Linked DNA regions of Homo sapiens: region 1 is linked to region 2. Evidence: promoter capture Hi-C in 16 types of primary human blood cells and fetal thymus (Javierre and others, 2016). All regions are on one chromosome and are shown on one strand. Each heading gives the region's core, a stretch centred on a gene start or on the middle of the fragment in contact. The rest is flanking DNA. Distances are from core to core; before and after follow the strand shown. Region 1 has its middle 120 kb from the start of ZNF280D. Region 2 holds the start of ZNF280D (zinc finger protein 280D).

Region 1 (6,791 bases), core at 258-2,757, 120 kb after region 2:
ACTCCCAGTGGCCCCTAGCTGCTTCCTGGACCTAGACATCGGCAGGGCTGCCGCTTTAGCCCCACCTTACTAGGTTGCCGCCTTCTGTTTCTGACCCAAATAAATGCTTATTTTGTATCTGGGCATGCATGAAACTGTCTTTTTCTTGTTAATTGAATCTATAATTCACATTTGTAGAGAAGGGGGAGAGTTCAGTGTTGAATTTACAGCACTCTTGACCTAAATTGTCCTCTTCACACATTTTTCTCAGTTTATTTTGTTGTCCTTTTTCTAGCTGCTTCATTTGGATGCTTAGTTCCTTTTGAATTATTCTTATTTTCTAAAAATGAGTTTAAGGTGAATATTTTGTATAGCTAACATTTACTAACCGTTTGCTATATGGCAGGCACCAAGCTAAAAGTACTTTACGTTGATTATTTGCTGTAATCTTCCCAAAAGCCTTATGAAGTAGAAACTGTTAGTATCTTAGTTTATAAATAAGAAAGTTGAGATACACAGTGAATAAGAAATTAGTTACGTGTAACCAAATAGGTAGTCTGACTCTCAAAAGCCTGGGCTTTTGACTAGGATTAGATATGTACCAATCACAACCAGTTAAGTGATGCATACATATATATAAAGAAAGACTTAATAGACGTTTTTCATTTCTCAGTTTCCTTCCTGCTACCCAATATAGCTAAAGGGCAATGTATTTTTTGTTTGTTTGTTTGTTGTTTTTTGAGACGGAGTCTTGCTCTGTTGTCCAGGCTGGAGTACAGCGGTGTGATCTTGGCTCACTGCAACCTCCGCCTCCCGGGTTCAAACGATTTTGCTGCCTCAGCCTCCCGAGTAGCTAGGATAACAGAAGCCTGCCACCATGCCCAGCTAATTTTTGTATTTTTAGTAGAGATGGGGTTTTACTGTGTTGCCAAGGCTGCTCTCTCTCGAACTCCTGACCTCAGGTGATCCGCCCACCTCGGCCTCCCAAAATGTTGGGATTACAGGCGTGAGCCACGGCGCCCGGCCAGTGCACCACATTTTGAACTGTTACCCAATTATCTATTCAAAAATAAATTTAAATGAAATACCTATTTTAAGCCACTAAATTTGTAGGAATTTGTCATGCAGCACAGAAAACAAATACAAACTGTTTCTGGTTTTTAGCTATTATAAGTTGCTTTGAACATCGCATGCAAGTCTGTGTATGGACATAAGCTCCGATTTACCTTTGGTAAATAGGAATAGGATGACTGGGTGGCATGGTAAGTATGCTTTTAATTCTTTAGGAAACTGCTAAACTGTTTTCCGAAGGGGCTTTTTGTTATATTCTCAGCAGCATTGTATGAGAGTTGCAGTTGTTTCCAAATTGTCACTAACACTTGGTATGGTCAGTCTCTTTAATTTTGTCCATTCTAATGGGTGTGTAGTGGTAAATCAGAGAATATGCTTTCCATAATTTTAGCCTTTGACATATATTAAGATTGTCTTTAGGGCTGAGTATATGGCCAGTTTTGGTAAATGTTTTATATGCACTTGAAACAAATATATATTCTGCAGTTGTTGGGTACAATATTCTACATATATCTGGTAGGTCAATTTTCTTAATTTTGTTATTCAGAACTTTTATATCCTAACTGATTTTGTTTGACTACTTGTTCTATCAATTACTGGATAAGGTGAGTTAAAATCTTCTACTCTGAATTCATTTCTTTTTTCAGGTCTTCAGTTTTTGCTATATTTCAACCACTGATAGTTTTTCTTTTTGAGAATATCACATAAATGAAATTGTTACAGGAAAGGCATCCCGATCCAGACCCCAAGGGAGGGTTCTTGGATCTCATTCAAGAAAGAATTCAGGGCGAATCCACAGTGCAAGGCAAAAGCAAGTTTATTAAGAAAGTAAAGTGATTAAAGTACAGCTACTCCATAGACAGAGTAGGGCATTCCCGAAAGTAAGAGGAGGAACACGTCCACCCTAGGTACGATACTTGTCTATATATATAGGATAAAAAAAATCATTGGGAGATGTGCTCTGCTACAAGGGTTTGTGATAAAGGATTAATTTTCTTAATTACTGTATTTTACAATAATCGATATTACCATTAAAGCAAAACTAGGAATGCTTCTCTTCTCAAGATAGCAGGATATCAGGACACTCCCAAGTCTGGATCTGTTTAGTAAACATTATCCATCTGTTCCCTTAACCGTAAACATCTAGAGGCTAGGAATACATTAGTTTCTAGGAATGCAGCCCAGCAAGTCCCAGCCTCAGTTTCCCAGCCCTCACTCAAGACGGAGTCACCCTGGTTCGAACACCTCTGACAGACTGATACATTATGTAACACTTTGAGACTTTGATTCAGCATAAGGTCTATGAGATTTGTACAAGTTGTTGCATGTATCAATAGTTCATTCCTTTTTATTACTGAGTAGTAATCCATTCTATAAATAATATGTTTATTCATTCACCATTAAAGGACATATGGTTGTTTCCTGTTTGATTATGAATAGAGTTGGTATAAACATTCATGTACATATTTTTGTGTGACCATATGTCTTAATTTCTGTTGTAAATACCCAGGAGTAGGATTGCTGGGTCAAATGGTAAGTGTATGTTTAACTTACAAGAAACCAGCAAGCTGCTTTCCAGAGTAGCTGCACAATTTGCATATTCACTTTTTACTTGGAATCAATATTTTACTTCAACTGGAATGTAGAAACCTCACCCACGTATGTTCTTTTATCCTCCATGCTTTACATTATAGTTGTCATACATATTACATTTATATTCATTAAAAGCCCATTAGATAATGTTACGAGTTTTGCTTTCAGCCATCAAATATATTTTAAAGAACTCAAGAGGAGAATAGTCTGTTATAGTTACTTAGGTAGCCACCATTTTCGTTGCTCATCCTTTATGCATAATATACCAAGTTTCCTTCAGGTACTATTTCCTTTTGGCTGAAGACATTTCTTTATAATTATTTTAGAGCAGATCTGATGACAACAAATGATCTTAGTTTTCCTTTTTCTAATGATGTCTATTTCATCTTAATTCTTAAATAATTTTAATAGTCTATAGAATTTTAGGTGGACAGATTTTTTTCTTTGTTTGTTTCTGCACTTTAAAAAATGTGCCATTTCATCTGAGTCTCTCTGGTTTCTGGTGATAAATCAGTAGTCATGTGAATCAATGTTCTTTTCTATGATAAGGCATTGTTTTTCTTTGGCTACCTTCAAATTTTTTCTTTGTCTTTAGTTTTCAGCAATTTGATTATGGTGTTATCAAAGTCAAATAAAATGATAGAGATGAAACTCTAAAGAAAATGTTTTATTTGGAAAAACGGAATTACCATTCAGGGCATGTACACAGACCAGGGTGGTCTTTGGTATCTTCAAAGAGCAGAGAAAAGGTTGGGGGTTTTATTAGAGAAATGTTATGTATTGTTTTGTAAGAAAACTCATTGGCATTAGGAAAGTTTTTGGGAGCTCATAAGCTCTGATTGGTGAGTAATGATGGGTAGGTAAAACTAGGCTTAAAGTCATGGCAGTTCATCTTAGCAGCTACTAGGTAAAAATAGTCTTAAGGTTGTAGCAGATCATTTTGGCAGTTGGCTTAGGAGACAGTCCCTGGGCAGGCACTTGTGCCCTGAGTGCTTTTCTTTTCTTTTCTTCCCCTGGTCTCCTGACTCTAATTTAATTGGGCATGATAACTCCAATTCATATAATCAATTCTCACAGTGTTTGGTTGTGGATTTGTTTGGGATTTTTCCTGTTTGAGATTCACTGAACTTCTTGAATCTGTAAGTTTATATCTTCTGCAAAATATGGGAGGAGTTTTTTGCTGTTATTTATCCTCCCCCTTTTTATTGTGGTAAAATATACAGAAAATAAAATTTACCACTTTGACATTTCTAGTGTATAATTCAGTGGCATTTAGTATATAAACAATGTTTTATGCAACCATCACCACTATTTTGAGAAATTTTTCATCATCCCAAACAGAAACTCTCTACCCATTGAGCGATAACTCCCCATTCCCCCTGCCCCTAGTACCTAGTAATTTCAATTCTATTAATCCTTTCTGTCTTTATGACTTTGTGTATTCTAGATACCTTATAAAATATGTGTTTGTCTTCACGTCTGAATTATTTCACTTAGCATAAGTTTTTCAACTTCATGTTGTAGCATGTATCAGAATTCATTCTTTTTTTGTGGTTGAGTGATATTCCATCGTACATATATATCAAATTTTGTGCATTCTGTTTGTCCATCTTTTGATGGACACTTTAGTTGTTTCCACCTGTTGGCTATTGGGAATAATGGTGCCAGGAATATTTGTGTACAAGTATCTGTTTGAGCCCCAGTTTTCCATTCTTTGGGGTATATATTGAGCAGTGGAATTATTGAGTCATATGGTAATTCTATATTTAACATTTTGAGGAGCTGCCAAACTTCCCATAGTGGCTGCACCATTTTAACTTCCCACCAGCAATTTACAAGGGTTCCGTCTTGGGTGCGCGATGACTGTCTGGGCTGGTGGCACAGAGGTAAAAGAATTTACCAAGATAGTTGTAGGTAAAGAAAGGCAGATTGGTTAAAGAAAGTATAAAAGTACGTTGCCAGGGAGCTATAGGTGGAATCAGCAGAAGAGTAGCTGACTGCAAGGAAACAAGGAAATAAGAACAAGAATGCTTCTTATGCTGAAGAGTGCTACAGGCAATACTGATAATGCTAAGGTTGCAGTGAGCTAACTTGCAGGTGTCTGATGATAGTTGGACCCAGGAGGGCAATGTGTAGTGGACCATGAAGAAAGGCAGACTTGAAGCTTATCTGCTTTCTCTTTTTGCTTTGCCTTGGTGTCCAGCCAGCCTGACTCCTTTTCCCTAATTATGAATCCACAGGTTCCAATTCCCACATCCTTGCCAACACATGTTAATTTCAGGAATTCTGGGAGTAGCCATTCTAGTGGATGTGAAATGATATTAGACATTATTCCTTTCTCCTCTTTGTCAGTCTCTGATAACACAAACATTAGACCTTTGGTACTGTCCCACAGGCTCCTTAGGTTCTTTACTTTTTTAAGAAATATTTTCTTTATTTTCGGATCAGGTAATTTCTATTAACCTATCTTCGAATTCACTGACTCATTTTTTTGTCATCTCCATTCTGCTATTAAGACTATCTAGTGAGATTTTTTTAAAAAAATTTAGTGATTACATATTTTTTTCAGTTCCCAAATTATCATTTGGTTCTTTATGTCTTCAGTTTCTTTGCTGAGACTTTATATCTTTTTATTCATTTTAAGAGTGTATGTCCTTACTTCCTGGAGCACCTTTATACTAATAATAGCTGCTTTAGCATTTTGGTCAGATAATTCTAACACCTGTGTCAAATCAGCATTGGTGTGTGTTGATCATCTTTTTCTCATGTGAGCTCAGATTCGCCTAGTTCTTCATATACTAAGTAGTTTTGGAATGTATCCTGGAAATTTCAAATATAATGTTAAGGGACTCTGGGTTTATTTAAATCCTATGGAGAATGTTGATATATTTGTTTTAGTAGGCAATTGACCTTATTGGGTTCTGGCTGCAAATTCCAACCAGCTTCTGTGGGTTGTGGTTTCAATGTCAGTTTCATTTTCAAAGCCTTCAGTTTTATTCAAATTTGTCACACATGTATGCTGCTCAGTGGCCATTCTGAAACCTGGCATGTGGTTTATCTCTTAGTTTAGTTCAGTCTTTGGTATGTTGGTTTATGATCAGAACCACACATGCATCCCTCAGAAGTGATACCAGAAATTCATAAACAACATTATCTGGTAATTTTCCAAAGATCCTCCCTTTAGGTATTTTCCCCAGTAACTTCCAGTCCCTTAAGCCTCTTTTTTGATCTTCCATCTGTAATACTGTGGCTTTATTTACCCCCCATCCTGCCCTACATTTTTCATGTCTGCACTCATATCCAGGGATAAGTGGAGGGAAGTTAGAATTTAAAAAGAAATGGTGTTCACCTCACTCTCTTGAGACTATAGCACCTCTGGAAAGTAACCCTCTCCCTCTCAGAATTTTGGTGCTCCTGTAGCTATCGGGAGATCTCTATCTTCTTCTTTGATCCTGAGTAGAAGGCTTCTCTGGAAGCTTTCTCTAGCTATACCAATACCTATCTCCACATTATAGATTGCCTTAAATCCACACTGAGAAATACTAAAGGGGGGTGAAAAGGGTCTATTCACTACCAGTTAGGTCTACTCCACTTCAAATTTCGTTGTTCTTTAGTCTTCATACTATTATCTTGTATTCACAGTCCTTCCACATTGTTATATGCATTCTGTCCAGGTTTTGTAGCCGCATTCAGTGGGAGAGTCAAAGTGGAGTGTGCTTACTCCACCTTACCCGGAACTGCAACTCTTAAAATAATTTTATAATTAACATCAATAGTAAGGGAGACTATGCATAAAACAAATAAACAAAACCTAACAAATTTGACATGTAAGCACTCTCACTGCCAGGCCAACATGTTGTTTAAAACTGTCCATAGAAATTGAATCTAAGTAGAGAAATTTCAGGTAGAAGCAAACTTTATAATTCCACCAAACCAAGAGCAAGTCAAGAATGCCTTCTATGATACTCTGGCTTCTTATTTTTAGGATGCAGAAAAGCTGCTCTGGCTAGCTTAAGAAAAATAGTTGCTCTGGCTAGTTTAAGAAAAATAACTTACTAATCAAGTATTATAAGAAGACACAAATACCTAAATCAGAAATGAAAGTGGGGACACAACTATTGACCTTTCAGAAGTAAAAAGGATTATAA
Region 2 (6,998 bases), core at 4,075-6,574:
ACTTTGTCCCAGACCATTGTCTGTTCTTTGAGCTCATTCACGTCTTCTGAAAATCATTTGCTACCCCTCAAAATTGCTTATGTCTTCTATTTTCTTCTCTGCTATGAAGAGGGTATTTGAGTGTCAACTGTCTGGCCCTTCTTTGAGTCTTATGTTTTGTATGACTCCTGTGCACAGTACCATGTGAATACCTTTGTATGCCTTTTCTCCTGTTATTCTCTCTGTTGTTGGTAATTTCAGCAGACTCAAACCTTCAGATGTGAAAAATTTCCTTCGCCCCCAACAATAAACTGGTTAATTCTGTTCTATGCTAATCTCCTTCTGATAACATCTTGCTAAAAATATCAAAAATCACCAACCTCTACCATTAATATTGCTTTCTGAACTCTTCCCTTAGCTCTACAAGTTATGTAGATACTAATCTGCCTTGTGAGATATTGTAAGCAAGAGTTTAGCCACTGCCTAAAGTGAACCTTCAGCTGTCCACCCTCCTACATCTATTTCCTCGATTCCCACCTGATTGCTGTGCTAAGCTAATGACACACATTTTAGTTTTTATCATTGTAGGCCATCACTATTATTAATCAGAGTTAGTGATTTGAGCTATTGCAACAAACCACCCTCAAATCTCAGGGTCTTAACCCAATAAAGGTTTATTTTTTGCTCCAATCAGTCCAGTGAGGATCAGTGTGTTGATGCAATTTTTAAGAAACCCAGAGTCCTTCTATATAATGTTGCTGCCATCCCCCAGCTTCTCAGAGTTTTCTGTATCTAGCTGACTGGTGTGTGAAAAACAAATAGGAACTATAAATTACTGGAAGTTTTAAGGTCAGGCTTGCATGGGAGGGTCACTGCTTCTGTTTACATTCCACTGTCCAGAATTAGTTACACAGCCCAATATAAAAGGTAAGGAAGCTGGGAAACATAGGTTTCCTGGGTGCAAAGAGGAAAATAAGATGGTGAATATGTATCATTATCTCTGTCACACTTAACGATGATTTCAGTTGCAGGTAAGAGAAAATTCAACTCAAATTGGCCTTGTGGGGGAGGAAAAACTTTTCTTCTACTTTTTGAGGTTCTATAATTGGGGGCCTGTGAATAAACTGACAAAGGACAAGAGAAGACAGATTTTAATCACATATGTACGTAAGGAGATCACAAGGAAGTGTTGACTCCAGAGGGTGGTTAGAATTTGGGGCTTAGAGACTGATATACTTCCCTGAAGGGGAGGGGGAGAAAAGCACTTATGGGAAAACAAATGACTTCTTAGAAGGGGAAGGAGCAGAAAGGGAACTTACGGAAATGACTTTTGGGAAAGATAAATGGGCCCTTTGGAGAATAGATGGGAGATATCATAGTTGTTTTGACAATGTCTGTTTAGATGTGGTGACATTCTCATAGTCTCTGACGGTGACTCAATCTTCCTTGGTTGCTCCCTGGAGGGAATTTATAACAATTGAGTTCTTTTGGGTTCTTTTGAAAGGCTCTGCTTTTAGGTAGATAAGGGATTTCAGGAACATAAACATATTCAGCTCAAAATAATTTTTATGCCACAATGGCTTATTCTGGATCCCTTCAGCTTAAACAACAAAGGTGATTTATTAGCTCATAAACCAGAAAAGTCTAGAGGCAGTATGGGTTCCGGTGATGTTTTATTTGAAGGTTTATGATTCTCTCAGGGATTGGCTTCCTTTCCCTATGATTGATTCTCCCAGCTATTCCTCCTTCACGTGTTGGCTTTATTTTCAGTTGGCTCTACTTAGTAGCAAAGAAAAAAAAAAGAGGGAGAATGTAGCTCTTCCAGTATTTACATTTGAATGCCATACCATTCAGAGAAAAAAAAGAACTTCTGTATTCTCTGCAATAAAACAAAAATCCTAGGCTTCCCTCTGATTGGCCTCTGAAACAAAAACTAGTTCAAAGGGTGAGGGTAACTCTGATAACTTTTGGCCAGTTGGACAATTCTTGGACCTGCTGTGCGGTGTATTACGTCTGTCCAAATTGCATGGATGAACACAAAGTAATTGTGGAATGAAAGCTGGGAGATCACCCATATTCACTGCAATAATTCAGGTAAGGATGTGGAGCATAATCTCACTTAAGGAGAATGAGTACTGTGAGGATATCTATAGCAAGTGTGTAACATGTAGAACAGGCTGAGAATGTAAGTCAGAGAAGCTCATAAAAAATGGTGGGAAAGCTCAGACCGTAAGTCAGGAGAACCAAAAGAACGGCGTTCTAGAGGCCAAGGGCGTATGATGTCAGAAGTTTGAAGGACGATGTCAGAATCATCCAAATAACTTCCTGTGTGCTGATTCTATTCTCATGAGTCATCTTTTGTAATTTGGCCTCTCACGTAAATGTTCCTTTGAATGAAAATACATTAACCAGCTTTTTGGTCTCCATGGCAGTTGTGTTTTTCATGAACAACAACAAAAAATAATTGCAATTTTGGCTTACACATGTGTCTCAGTAAGTTTGGTTGGTATGAATCATCCCCCAGGATTCAAATTAGTTCTGGAGACTGGCAACATTGAGCTTTTGTCTCTACAAAGTGAGGACTAGACTCTAGAATACAGAGTGCAATCTTCTCTTTCATCCTGTTATAAATAAAAATAATAGGATGCCATCATTTTATTATTTTTACTTTTTATTTTCATAGGTTTTTGGAGAACAGGTGGTGTCTCGTTACATGAATACGTTCTTTAGTGGTGATTTCTGAGATTATGGAGCACCCATCACCCGAGCAGTATACACTCTACCCAATGTATAGTCTTTTATTCCTCACTCCCCTCTCACGCTCTCCCCGGAGTCCCCAAAGTCCACTCTATCATTACTATGTCTTTGCATCCTTATAACATAGCTCCCACTTACGAGAACATACAATGTTTGGTTTTCCATTCCTGAGTTACTTCACTTAGAACAATGGCCTCCAATTACATCCAGGTTGCTGCAACTGCCATTATTTCATTCCTTTTTATGAGGATGCCATTATTTTGGACCAAACTCCTGCACTAAGCCCCAGCAGACTAGACTAAAAACCAACATGGAGTTACCCATGCTCACAAAACTGAAACTGAGTTGTTATGTGGCCTTCTGAGAAATCAGGAGAGAGATAACAGCCTAATTTCCCAAACAGGCCAGTTTAAACCTTCAATCCCCATGATAATGAAGTTCCCTGTTTTAAGTCGTTTTTGTTTGTTTTTGAGACAACGTCTTGATCTGTTGCTCAGGCTGGACTGCAGTGGCAGGATCATGGCTCATTGCAGCCTTGAACTCCTGGACTGAAGGAATCCTCTTGCCTCAGCCTCCTCAGTAGCTGGGACTACAGGTACACACCACCACACCTGGCTGCTGTTGTTCTTACAATATTAATCTGGAGTAACCTGGTATTAACCAATCAGTTTTCTTTCTATTATTCTGTCTCAGTGCCCCACCTTACAAGGAAAGTAACTTTGAAAAGACCAACTTGTTTTTTGTTGTTTCTTCTTTCTTCAGCCCATTTTCTGTCTATAAAGCCAACCACATCTGCTCCATTCATGGGAACACCTATTCTGTTTTACTGAATGAAGTGGTGCCTGAATCTAGAATTGCAATAAAGCCAACCGAGATCTTTAAATTTGTTGTAATTTCACCTGACACTGTAGCATGCTTTGCTAACCTTTAGGGACATTTGAAAAACGATGTCTTAAGAATGTTCCAAGATTTTGGAATTTTTAAACTTTCCATGTTTGCTGTTTTGACTATTTTCTGTCTTTTCCTGTAAGGTTTATTTTTCAGGGCCAGCAGAAAAGGGAAAGCTGGGTAGATGATCCCAGGCCCATGTGGGAGAAGGATAGGTCATGGTTACCTCCAAGTACACCAGATCTGTAGGAGTGATCCAGGTGGTCTTTGGGGAAGATTAATTTGGGGGCAGTAATCAATATGGAGACTACAGTAATGATAAACACTTGAGAAAAACTGGGGAAAGCCAGATGAGAGAGAAGAAACTGAATTCGAATAGGAAGATGAATTAGCAAGATTCAGTGATTGAACAGGGTGTCTGTTATGGATCCTAACAGGCAAGATTTCAAGTCTTGGTCACTCACAAGCTGCACCAGTAATGCCATTGCTCTTGAGAAGACAATCAGTTTAGGAAACTTTCCTTACAGATCAGAATACAACCTTTAGCAAGTATTTACGCAAGCAGTATCTTGGCAAGTGTTCTTCTTGTAAATTTCTTATACTTCTCGTTGTCAAACTTTAAAAAATGCTATTACAGGTTAATATGCAGATGGCAGAGTTAGGAATTAGAGTGTGCAAGTTAATCATTCTAATTGGGTCACTCTTGTCATAGCCAACTAAAAGAATGGAGAAGCCAGTGCTGGGGGAAGCCCTCAGGGCACATAACATTGCTCTAAGAATGGAATTCTCAGCAAGCCTGGCTGCTGAAACCGCCTGCTGTAACCTGAAACAGGTTTTATCTTCAGGTTTTAGCTTCTCAAAGAACCTGCTGCAGCTGTAGGGCAAGCTTTACCAAGCCCCTTCCCTCACCAGTCAGAACTAACCAGCTACCCAAAACTTTACTAAATGTCAACGAACTTTCTAGAAAAACAATAGATAACTTTTTTTAAAAAATAAAACCCCCTAACTCCTCTTTGTTCTTCTGACATACTGAAGACCACCCTGTATGTGTAAATAACCTGAACTTGCAATTCCTGTGTCCCAAATAAAACGCTAAATGTACAGATTCGTCTCTTCGTATTTGACCTCGACAGGGAACGCAAGCAAAACCACACATTTAAAACAGACTTGGTAAAATCAGCTCGTTATTTAAAGAAACGGACGATTCCTTTTTCTCTCCTGGTTTAGTCTTCGACCCACAGGCCCCTTGCTTCTTTCGAACGGCGGCTGTATCCCATGACCTTTTCACTTTCCAAGCCAACGGACTGGGGGTCGTTACACACGCGGAGGGCCCGGAACGCACGGCTCCTCGCCTGCAAATTCCGAGCAGTCCGGATTTTGGGGCTGCCTCCCGGCCACACCAGCCAGCAGCTCGCACCCACATGGAGGCAGGGCCCTGGCCCTCGCCCCGGACCGGCGCGTGGCGGGGCGCGTGGGTCTTCGAGGGCCCGCGACGCGGCGCACATGCCGGTGCCCGCCTCCCGCGTCGGCGAGAAGACAGGGAGCTCGGACACGGGGAGGCTGACCCGGAGCCTACCCATGAGGCAGCGCGCCGGCTGCACGAGAGCCCCCCCCTTTCCACGGCTCGGCTGCCAGCTCCGCAATGGGAGCCGCCGCCGTCGCCGCAGTGTAGTTTTTCGTGCTCCTCCTTTTCCTCCTCCTCTTTCTCCTCCTCCTCAGGGCTCCAGTCAGGCCGATCCGCTCCGCTCACGGTAAGCGCCCCCCCGCCCCCGCCCGCCCTGCGCTGCAGCAGGCAGAGGCCCTCCCGCGCGGCCTGCGCCGCCTCACTCCGGGGGCGCTGGACTGGGGGTCTTGAGGCCGGCGCGGGTCGTCGGGAGCGCCCAGAGCGCGGGGGAGGAGACCGGCTGCGCGGCGGCGGCCGGACCGCCATCTTGCGTCGGCCCAGGCGGGGGAGGAGGTATCCCGGCGCGACGCGGCAGCCGCCTCGGCTGCTGCAGGCCTGGGCCGCGCAGGCCTTCGCCTTCTGCTCCTCCGCCACCTCCTCTCCCAGGCGTGTGCGCCTGTTTGTCCCCAGCCTGGTTTTGGCTTTTCTCTCTGGAGGCAACTCCCTTTGGTACATTTTGTGCCGATGTTTGGCCAAGACCCATGGTCCTCACACCACAGCCCACCCCCGTGTCTCTTCAGTCGTAGGAAAGGAGACCAAAGGGGATTCGGGATTTGCAGGCACAGGGCCCCTCATTTTGCCCAGATGACCGGTCGTTCCACGTTTGCACCCTCATTTTTGTCAAAGAGACCTCCCCTCCTCTGCCATAGAATTCCCGTTATTGTCTACAGAAGAAGGGCCCTGAGGAGAAACGTGGAGTTGGAGACAAAATTTTCTGAGCTTTGCAAGGTTCACTTACTGAGACGGAAAGAATGATCTCACTCTGAGGTTTTAGCCTGCTCCAGCGATGGAAGGAATTCCTCCCAACTTATCGCAAGTTTTAACGCTTTTAAGGAGAAATCTGCTGGAGAGGAAAAACGTCAAGGTGAACCCGCTTCTGCAAGCACGGGAGACCTTTGGCCAAAGGCCTTTGTTTGCGAAGATTTGTTAAAAAAAAAAAAATCTGTCATCTTAAATATTTGGCTTTATTTTCAGGTTTGGACAGAATTTGTCTTTTTTAGTGCCATGAAACATAAAATGGAACGCTAGAAGGACAGTTTTAAAGCACAAAAGCTGCCTCTTAGCATCTGTAAGGTGTCCTGCTTTGGGGGACTGCTGTGCCAACTCCAGCTGTCTCCACGCAGAAACTTAACCAGGGAAGGCACTGGTTTGCTTATACCATTGTTAGGGCTGTGTGCCTCTGATGTTTTAACATCACTACAAATACTGTTGTAATTGTGTCTTGCTTTTGTGCCTTTCATTGATAACCCCTGATTTGTATCTCTTAGCCCCTTTTGAAGTGGTCTGGGTTGCTGGAATCATTTTGCAGGCGAGGAAACAGAGCCTCAGGGAGAGGACTTTAATGAGGTCACTGACTAGGAAGAGCCAAGGCCAATTATATTAATAGAACCTTAGGTCTTCTGACTCCTTCTCCGGTGCTCAACTCTAGTATATACCATTTTTGTGGGAATGAGGTAGATGAGAATAGGCAAGGAGGCTCACTTAAAGATTTTAAGAAACATTACTCAGTTGCCCTTTCGTTGATATTTTTATACTTTACTTTTGAAATGCGGTTGTTATGTTGCCCAGGCTGGTCTCAGACTCCTGGGCTCAAGCTGACCTCTCACCTCAGCCTCCGTAGCTGGGATTACAGGTGTGCACCATCTAGCCTGGCTTTTATATTTTTATTCTCGAGTTAATTTCTTAACTTTGCAACTTGCTATTTTTTTCG

What was found. Contacts are between HindIII fragments. The CHiCAGO score rates a contact against its expected background, and 5 or more counts as called.
Region 1: a fragment that was not itself captured here is called in contact with the fragment with the promoter of ZNF280D in region 2 in 1 of 17 cell types (fetal thymus); the score reaches 7.4 in fetal thymus.

What each region holds. Positions count from the first base shown.
Region 1 is chr15:56,607,178-56,613,968 of GRCh38, reverse strand. No RefSeq gene overlaps it. Among named protein-coding and RNA genes, the nearest start is that of ZNF280D, 120 kb to the left of the region's middle. The HindIII fragment of the contact is 6,604 bases long and covers 1-4,809 here.
Region 2 is chr15:56,731,835-56,738,832 of GRCh38, reverse strand. ZNF280D (zinc finger protein 280D) reads left to right here and starts at 5,324. Exons shown (of 22, transcript NM_017661.4): 1 at 5,324-5,375. RefSeq lists a silencer at 5,305-5,574. The HindIII fragment of the contact is 3,680 bases long and covers 4,513-6,998 here.